Linked DNA regions of Homo sapiens: region 1 is linked to region 2. Evidence: promoter capture Hi-C in human tissues and cell types (Jung and others, 2019). All regions are on one chromosome and are shown on one strand. Each heading gives the region's core, a stretch centred on a gene start or on the middle of the fragment in contact. The rest is flanking DNA. Distances are from core to core; before and after follow the strand shown.

Region 1 (5,062 bases), core at 1,799-4,298, 67 kb after region 2:
CTGGCTGACTTAGAATTCAAATCTTTATCTTTGCCTTGACCCTGGAATGTGAAGAGGAAAGCTAATGGTAAGAGCATAAATGCAAGTGGATTTCAAGCAGCAGCAGCCACTAACGGTACGAAGCTCTTATTTGAGTTCATTAGATTTTCCTACTAAGGCCCCTTTCTGATTCCTTCTCTCAGAGGGAGGCCACAGACAAAGAGCTTTCTCTCCTGAAGGCTACAAGCACAGAGAAGAGGGCAGGCTTGTGTCTGTGGTATGAGTGTAGAAAGGGTGGGCTTAAGCAACGGGTCACTTCCTGACCTAAGATTTCAGAAATCCTGAGACCAGTTAGACTACAACAGGAAAAGACTTAACTTGGACAGAAAACTGCTTTTTTTTTTTTTTTTTGAGGTGGGAGTCTCACTCTTGTCACCTAGGCTGGAGTACAACGGTGCAATCTTGGCTCACTGCAACCTCCCCCTCCCAGGTTCACGCGATTTTCCTGCCTCAGCCTCCTCAGTAGCTGGAGTTATCGGAACCCGCCACCATGCCCAGCTATTTTTTTTCTATTTTTAGTAGAGACGGGGTTCTACCATGTTGGCCAGGCTGGTCTCGAACTCCTGACCTCAGGTGATCCGCCCACCTCCGCCTCCCAAAGTGCTGGGATTACAGGCATGAGCCACTGCGCCCAGCAAGAAAACTGCTTTTAAATGTGCCATTTTCAACAAGCTTTCACTTTTACAATGTCTGATCTTTGTATGTTATCTCTCCTCCTGTGAAGCTGGCAGGGTATACAGTAGTACCCTCATTTTACACAGCAGAAAAGGGGATGCTGAGGGCTGGAAGCCAGCTGCTGAAGGACATAGTCAAGGCCCTAGGCAAGTAGTGGTGTCAGGTTTGGAATTAAGGTTGTCTGTTGATTATATCTGTAAATAACTGGGATGGAGAAGGGACTCCAAGAGGGACTCCCTGTTCCTCAAGGTGGAAAAATCAAGCCCAAACTAGACAAGGTACTTGTTCGGTATCTCAGCCAGCAGCCTCACTCAGCAGGCAACAGGGTGGTACCACACTTGCCTTGCTCATTTCCTTTGGAGCATCTGGTAACACTCCAGAACCGTATTTTGCATTCAGCTGGGCCAAGATGGCAGCTTGAACAGCTGGGTCTCTGGACTGAGAGAGAAAATAAGTTGTTTTAGAGATTGCTTGACACTCACAGAGTCCTACTGCCAGATTCTTTCCCACCTACCAAACTAACATCACAAGCACCACAGCCGACCCATCAGCAGCTAGTGGGGTTTTCCTCAAAGCAGCAAAAAAAAAAAAAAAAAAGGCAATTACAAGCTTGAAAGCCAAGCCCAGCCCAGCCAGGCCCTAGCTAAGGGACACATTACTAATGTCTGCTGCACTGTAAACCCACCCTGATACAGGAGGATCAGTCACTAGGTTTTTATAAATCCATGCCACGTTTTCACTACCGATATGTCCTATAGCAAGATAAAAAAGGAAGTATCCAGACCCAAGAGCTTCAGACAAGCAAATCCCAGCTAAGAAAACATTATTTTTAACTTCATTATTAATTTCCTAATGGAATTCATTTTGTGTCCTAGAATCTAGGTCCTGACTAAAATGTCCTCTTTCAGCACTCACATTAGAAACGATGGTAGGCTTGCACTGCCGCCGAGTAAAGGGATCCATCTGTTGGTTTTTCATGTTGTGACTTTCAGCCTGAAACAGAAAGCATGCACCACAGAACTGCACCTCCAGCCCCTCCTCTCATTCACCATAAGCTCACAGGCAAATAAGTCTTTGCACGGGACTGAAAAAAAAAAAAGCTATTATCCTTTTCCTTTTTTTTTTTTTTTAATTTTTTTTGAGATGGAGTCTCGCCCTGTCGCCTAGGCTGAAGTGCAGTGACGCAATCTCAGCTCATTGCATCTGCTGCCTCTCAGGTTCAAGTGATTCTCCTGCCTCAGCCTCTCCAGCAGCTGGGACTATAGGTGCAAGCCACCAAACCCAGCTAATTTTTGTATTTTTAGTAGAGACAGGGTTTCGCCATGTTGGCCAGGCTGCTCTCAAACTCCTGACCTCAGGTGATCCACCCACCTCAGCCTCCCAAAGTGCTGGGATTACAGGCGTGAGCCACCATGCCCGGCTAATTTTTTTTATTTTTTAAATGGATTCTCGCTCTCTTGCCCAGGCTAAAGTGCAGTGGCACGACAGCTCACTGCAATCTCCACATCCCAGGTTCAAGTGATTCTCGTGCCTCAGCCTCCCAAGTAGCTGGGATTACAGGCGTGCACCACCATGTCCGGCTCATTTTTGTATTTTTAGGAGAGACAGGGTTTTGTCATGCTGGCCAGGCTGGTTTCAAACTCCTGACCCCAGGTGATCCACCCGCCTCGGCCTCCCAAAGTGCTGGGATTACAGGCGTGAGACACCGCGCCCGGCATATTATCCTTTTCCCTTCAAGAATACCAGAGTAGATATGGGGGAAACAACCAAGAAACAGAAATTGAGAAAAAACAAATACCTGTGGAGTAGAATCTAAGGGTGGGAAGAGGTAGGACAGGGCAGAAGACTGCTGCTTTTCATTATGAATAAATTATATCGATGTACGTGGACATACAGAGAGAGTGTGTATACGTTAAGTGCCTACGTTATTTCAATAATTAAAAAATAAACTTAGGCAAGATGTAGAAAAGATGTCATGGTTTATTAATTAACTTTGTTTTAGTGATTCAGATAAAGTTTTCTTACCACAAGGGCCTTCTCAGACTCTACAATGTTCCACTCCCGGTTCCGCTGGTTGATGTAACTGTGGGGTAAGAGGGATGAGTCAGTGGCTGTGAAACAAGGGAGGGAGGGAACCACTGAGCCCTGAACTCAGATATCTATGGGGTCAGTGCAGCACAGAGTGTACAGGCCACAGGCTTGCCTGATAATTTTGGCCAAGGTCTGCGGGCCAAAAATAGGCTCCATAACACACCTGATAGCGGATATGTTCTTGGTCCGCTGGCGGTCCAGGGCCTCTGCCCGTTCCTCCAGCTCATTCAGTTGATCTTGGATTTGTTTGGCCTTGTCCTGATCCCCCAGGTCCTCAGCCATGGCCTACACATAGAGAGATGTGTGAGTTCGTTCTTGGCTACATACAACTGACTCCATATCAAGTATCCCCTTACTTCCAGCACAGGCAAAGATATCTCATGTGGTGAGCAAAGGACAGGAGATGTGGAAGAATACTGTAGAAGTACTTTACAAATACAAGATATAATTTATATTATAGTAGTGCACAGTACAGTGGGGAACACCTTCCCATACAGCTACCTGGCTGTGGGTCCCTGGTGGCAGTAGAACCCCAGGCCTCACAGGGTGGCTAAACCACCATAACAAGGCCCACCCCAACCCAGTGTGAAGAATGGAAAATCACCAGCCACAGGTGGCCTTGACAGTGTCATCTGTCTGTTCAGACTCAGTGTTAAATACCACCCCAGGGTCTATTTTATTACAAAGGAAACTGAAGTGACTAGAAAGTAAGAAGACTGGCACACACGCAGAAGATGAGTTTGAATTTAGGGAATGGAAAATGGCCAAGGAACGTTGCCCAGGTGCCAAGAACACACTGTGTTGCTTATAATCGAGCCCAGAATTTTCTCCCAATCCTACCACCACTAACTTGGCAGAGGATGAACAAGTTTGATTTCCACATCTCCTTACAGGATGAGGAAAGAGGCTCGAGTACAACTCCTTACCTTTTCCTTCAGTAGCTGAGTCTTCTTCATAGCGTAGTTGGGTGGAGCTTTTCTGAACCTTTCTTTCTCTTTTACAATCTGTACCAGAGAGGAGATACCAGCAGTGAGGTATTCCTAAGCTATTTTTGTAGACAGGCTAAGTGAGCCCATTTTGGATGCAAACAGCTAGTTACAAAGGGGCTGCTCTTCCTACAGCAGTGTCATGCCCCAGAGAGAGAGAGAGCGGGTTCATTCCAAGGGATACTATGCTGCTTCCTGGGTCACGGAGATTCTTCTGGGACAGGCTGAAGGAACATGCACCAAGAAACAGCAGCCCAAGGGCCTGGTAGTGTAAGGCTAGCCACTGTCCAAGAGAACAGAGATCAAATAATTTTACCAAGATGTTTTAGAAAAGGAAAACTCTTGAAGGATCAAGCCTAGCAGAATACAGACCCCTGAACCCTAAATACACTTTAGTGTATGTAGCCTCATTTGTTGTCTCATCTGAACTCTGAATACACTTCAGTCTATGTTAGCCTCATCCGGACATGAGAATGTATAGAAAAAAGCTTGATGAACTATAAATAATCAGGTAGTAATATTAGTATTCCCTCATTTTCATGCATAGCTAAAAATGTCAAGATATAGGGAAATAAAAGAGAATCATGTTCTCTCAACACTGGTTCTTGATGAACCTCCGGGTTCTGGGGCACCAGTTTTCTTACCTCTTCAATGTCCTGATCATTGAATTTATAATTAAGAGCTTCTTTAATAGATAATTCCTTTTTATTGATTTCATCTAGAGTGGGCAACTGCATGCCAGCAGAGAACATCTGGATCAAAAACACGATACGAGATTATTAGTAAGGGATTTTGGAAAGATATTTTCTCAACGTGCACGAACAACTGCTAGGTAATCTCTAGCCACGTACCGCTTCTTTCCACTTCATAAACTCACTTTCGGTGAATTCTTGGTTTGAGACAAACTCTAAACGGAACACGCGTTGGTCATTGCCATGCCTACATAAAAGAGAGACAGCATCTCCAAGAAATGTGCATGTTGACTGTAGTACAAGCAAAGCAACCTTACCAGACTATGTACCACCTATATATACCTATTGCAGTGGTTCTCAATCCTAGCTACCCTATAAAATCATCCCAGGCTGTTTTAATGAGCTGCCAAGATTGAGATCCCAAAGCTAGCACTGGAAACCAAATGGGCTTGGTCAGTGCTTCAAAAGTCAATTTACAATAAAATCCATTACAGTCAACATCAACAATATGCAACAGAGCCTGGGACAGGGTTACATGCCTGTGGTCACAGCTCCTCAGGAGACTGAGGTGGGAGGATC
Region 2 (4,906 bases), core at 919-3,418:
ATGGAGACCATCCTGGCTAACACGGTGAAACCCTGTCTCTACTAAAAATACAAAAAAGTAGCCCGGCATGGTGACAGGTGCCTGTAGTCCCAGCTACTCAGGAGGCTGAGGCAGGAGAATGGTGTGAACCCGGGAGGTGCAGGTTGCAGTGAGCTGAGACTGCGCCAGTGCACTCCAGCCTGGGCGACAGAGCGAGACTCTGTCACAAAAAAAAAGGAAACCTACTGAAACAGGCCAGGTGCAGTAGCTCATGCCTGTAATCCCAGCACTTTAGGAAGCTGACGTAGGTGGATCACCTGAGGTCAGGAGCTCGAGACCAGCCTGGCCAACATGGTGAAACCCCGTCTCTACTAAAAATACAAAAATTAGCTGGGCATGGTGGCGGGCGCCTGTAATCCCAGCTACTCGGGAGGCTGAGGCAGGAGAATCACTTGAACCCAGGAGGAGGTTGCAGTGTGCCGAGATCATGCTATTGCACTCCAGCCTGGGCGACAAGAGCAAGACTCCGTCTTAAAAAAAAAAAAAGAAAGAAAAAGAAAAACCTACTGAATCAGAAACTCAGAGGTTGAGGCCCAGCAATCTGTTTCGTTTTGTTTGAAACAGAGTCTGGCTCTGTGGCCCAATCTGGAGTGCAGTGGTTCCATCTTGGCTCACTGCAACCTCCGCTTCCCAGGTTCAAGTGATTCTCCTGGCTCAGCCTCTTGAGTAGCTGGGACTACAGATGGACACCACCATGCCCTGCTAATTTTTATATTTTTAGTAGAGATGGGGTTTCACCATGTTGGTCAGGCTGGTCTCGAACTCCTGACCTTAGGTGATCTGCCAGCTTCAGCCTCCCAAAGTACTGGGATTATAGGCATGTGCCACTGTGCCTGGCCCCAGCAATCTGGTTTAACAAGACTTCCAGTTGATTCTGGTGCCTGTTAAAGTTGGAAAGCCACTGGACTAACATTGGCTGCCCCATGATGTCCTTTGGTCTAGAAATGATTTACTTAAGGTCCTACTATGTGCATGGCAACACGTTGGGTGCTCAGTATTTAGATGCAAAGTACAAGGTCTGGTGCCCACAAGGAACTGACAGTCTATTCAAGGGAACAGGACATAAGCCTGTGAAAAGGTAACCGGTGACAGTTGGTAGTTGGCAGTGTGTTCTTAGCATACCACACAACTGGTGCAGGCGGTGAGATTCCAGGTGAATCCAAGGAAAGTTTGGTGAGTAGGCGTGGCTGGCAGAGGTTTTAGAGTTGACGCCAGCTAGGCCTTAAAGAGTTATCCTTTGGAGACAGGGGTGGCAGGGAAAAGAGGGAGGATTTCCAAGAAGGGAGAGTGGGATGAACAAAGGCAAGATTCTGGAGAAGATGATAACCTTGCTAGCAAGGAAGCTTTATTCCCTCTCTTCTCACCACCACTATTTCTGCAGTGCACACTGGCAGTGTTCTTTCCTTGGGCCTTTTTCATGGTTACCTTCTAGCTCTTCCATAAACACATTCGTCACGTTGGGGTGTGTGTGTGTGTCCACGTTTCTGTGTGCTGCCGTGGGCGTGGGTGCTGGGATGTGGGATGTGGTAACACTGGCTGGTGAGTGCAGAGGGACGTCTGAGGAACGCTGTGTCCCTGCCAGGGGTGTCGTAAGTGCAGAAGGGGCTGTGCCTGCTGTACATCAGAAGCATGTGTGGGCCAGGCGCGGTGGCACATCCTGTAATCACAGCACTTTGGGGGGCCGAGGCGGGCGGATTACCTAAGGTCGGGAGTTCGAGACCAGCTTGGCCAACATGGTGAAACCCCGTCTCTACTAAAAATACAAAAATTAGCCAGACGTGGTGGCGGGCACCTGTAATCCCAGCTACTCGGGAGGCTGAGGCACAAGAATCGCTTGAGCCCGGGAGGCGGAGGTTGCAGTGAGCCGAGATTGCGCCACAGCACTCCAGCCTGTGCGACAGAGCAAGACTCTGTCTCAAAAAAAAAAAAAAAAAAAAAGGATGTGTGTTCTGGGTGATGGTATAGAGCTTACGTGGGGGTAATAAACCGCCAGCCGCGCAGCACCGCGCTCACCAGTCCGCTGCACTGAACAAGCAAAGCCCAGAATGCTCCGAGATAAGACCGGGAGAGGCGGGGCTGGGCTGCGGGGCGGAAGCTGGAATCTGGCGGCGGCGGAAACGCGATCTCTGCGGGGCAAGATGGCGGCGCCCAGACAGGCCTGGAGCACGTAGGTGGCGGGGCTGGAGGGACGGATTTCAGGTGATCTGGGAGGAGGACCCAGGGTAGCGTGTCCAGTTTCTTTGCTGGAACCTGCCTGCGGGCCTTTGGTCTGTAAGGGAGCAACTGTGGCCTCCTCTGTGCATAGATCTCGGGCACGGCCCTTCAACGGGCGGCGAAAGCTGCGACTCGATGATTCCTCATTGTAGAGTTGGGTGGTCCAGGAGGCTTAACTGGAGCCCTTGACCTGAGCGGTAAGGGCAGTCACGCGTCCCGACTCGGGATTGGATCCTGGCTCTGGAGGATAGGCTGCAATGTAAGAGCCCCAGAGACTCCTCAGAGGCCAACATAAACCCAGAGGTCCATTGTTAGGACTACTTTTTTTTACGAGTTACTCTTTAGGCATTACTCTTTAGGATTACAGGCGTGAGCCACCGCGCCCGGCCAACCCATTCTTATTCTATTAATAACTGAAAATGTTATCACTTCTAGCACTGATTGGTTCTGGACAAATCTGCGCTGGATTTGTGGGGAAACACACTGGTGGCTTTACTTAGGACTAAAATAATTGTTACTGAGGTTTATTTATATAAGTAACAGGCACTGGGCTAGGCGTTTTGCGTGTATAGTCATTTAAATCCTCACACATTTCCTATTATATAGGACCTGTTACTCACATTTTACAGTTGTGGAAATGGGACTTAAGACAGCATAGAGGCCGCGCACGGTGGCTCACGCCTGTAATCCCAGCACTTTGGGAGGCCGAGGCGGGCGGGTCACCTGAGATCAGGAGTTCGAGACCAGTCTGGCCAACATGGTGAAACCCCGTCTGTACTAAAAAAATACAAAAAATTAGCCGGGCGTGGTGGCAGGCGCCTGTAATCCCAGCTACTCGGGAGCCTGAGGCAGGAGAATCACTTGAACCCAGGAGGCGGAGGTTGCAGTGTGCCGAGATCGTGCTATTGCACTCCAGCCTGGGCAACAAGAGGGAGAATCTGTCTCAAAAAAAAAAAAAAAAAAAAAAAAAGGACAGCATTGATAATTTGCCTAATTTCGCACATTTAGTGCATTTAGTAAGTAGCGGAACTGGTATTTGACTTCTGGCCTATTGATTCCAAAACTGGTGCCCATAACCCCCTGGCTCTCTTTGTGATGTAGGTATGGCGCACCCTATGAAGTGAGCTGGACTTTGCTTTTGGATCACATGAATCCATGGATAAGTAGGAATTGTTTCTGCTTATGTAGACTCTTATAGGAGTGAATTGTTACCATACTATGGATTCTCAGTTCATCTAGTTCAGCCTTCCTTAGGGCCTTTGGGTAGGCATTGGGGTAGGAGACTTTTTCCTTGTTTGTTGGTCAGACTGCCCAACAATTAGATATGGTTATCTGCCCTTTGGCTATATAAATAATAAGAATCATAACTGGCGTTTGTGTCCTTTCATGTATGAGACTCTGTTCTAATCTTCTTACATATATATAATTAATTCAGGAGGTAGGTACAGTTATCTTCATGTTACAGATGAGGAAACAAGCACAGTAACTTCAGTAAAATACCTTGCTTAAGCTTACACAGTTAGTAAATGGCAGAGCCTGGATTTGAACACAGGCAGTCCATTTTCATACTGTTTACCTCCCATCCAGGAAAAGGCACATCTGTATACTTCGCTGTTGTCATGCTACAAATAGTAATTAATACAAGTTCTATGCCAAATTTAAGATGAAATTTTGTAGACAGGTCTTTGCTCACTTCATCCACTTCCTTCAGTTCTCTACTTATCTAAGTTTTCTCTTTCAATATTGACCTCTATTTTTAACCTTTAGGGATTTTTCCCACCTCTGAAATCGTGTAGCACTGATCTTCTATGCAATTAATTTCATCACTGGGATGTACTGCCTTGTAAATTTATATGTGTGTTTACCATATTCTCTCACCCCAACTTTGGGTACATCATTGACCAAAGGAAGACCTTTACAATCTTGGAGACATCATTTAAACTGTAAACCTTTGGAATTTCTAGACTTGTGTGGGCAAAGAGAGATAATGAAGTGGGAAATTATTAAAAGACCCAGCATTTCGGCATGGTCTCTGTCTCCCCAGTAAGCCCCTTGAACCCAGGGACTGGATTTTACTCCCATTTCTTTATATTTACAGCCCCTTGTACACCGCTCAGCCCAGAGTAAACTCTCAAAAAATTTTTTGATAATGTTCTTAAGGTCACACCGTCATGTGATTGTTTCACCATTTCTACCCCTTTAGCCTGCCCCCAACCCCTGTGTTGGGAGGTGTTTCCAAGGCTGGCTTAGTTATTAGATCTGATCCTGCTTAGAAGTAGATGAAGAAAAAGTAAGGAAATGTGTCATTCAGCACTTTTTTTTTGAGACAGAGTCTCATGCTCTGTCCCCCAGGCTGGAGTGCAGTGGCACGATCTTGGCTCATTGCAACCTCCACTTCCCGGGTTCACGCCATTCTCCTGCCTCAGCCTCCCCAGTAGCTGGGACTACAGGCGCGTGCTACCACACCCAGCTAATTTTTTGTATTTTTAGTAGAGACGGCATTTCACCGTGTTAGCCAGGATGGTCTCGATCTTCTGACCTCGTGATCTGCCTGCCTTGGCCTCCCAAAGTGCTGGGATTACAGGCGTGAGCCAGCACACCCGGCCTTCATTCAGCACTATTGTTAGTTCCAGCTATCTAGCTTGTCTACCTC

Evidence for each region. The method cuts DNA at HindIII sites, captures the fragments that hold promoters and counts their contacts. A contact is called where the count stands out against the background at its distance.
Region 1: a contact is called between a fragment that was not itself captured here and the fragment with the promoter of RPAP1 in region 2, in 3 of the 25 tissues and cell types used here (lymphoblastoid cells, mesenchymal stem cells and mesendoderm cells).

The regions. Positions count from the first base shown.
Region 1 is chr15:41,475,193-41,480,254 of GRCh38, reverse strand. It overlaps RTF1 (RTF1 homolog, Paf1/RNA polymerase II complex component), which reads right to left. Exons shown (of 18, transcript NM_015138.5): 10 at 4,643-4,730; 11 at 4,436-4,543; 12 at 3,732-3,809; 13 at 2,969-3,090; 14 at 2,740-2,797; 15 at 1,630-1,707; 16 at 1,057-1,152; 17 at 1-41. It overlaps LOC105370790 (a long non-coding RNA gene), which reads left to right. Exons shown (of 3, transcript XR_932169.3): 3 at 764-828. Among named protein-coding and RNA genes, the nearest start is that of ITPKA, 16 kb to the left of the region's middle. The HindIII fragment of the contact is 4,062 bases long and covers 1,018-5,062 here.
Region 2 is chr15:41,541,519-41,546,424 of GRCh38, reverse strand. It overlaps RPAP1 (RNA polymerase II associated protein 1), which reads left to right and starts at 2,168. Exons shown (of 25, transcript NM_015540.4): 1 at 2,168-2,206. RefSeq lists enhancers at 2,024-2,413, 2,347-2,928 and a silencer at 3,408-3,608. The HindIII fragment of the contact is 9,616 bases long and covers 1-2,573 here.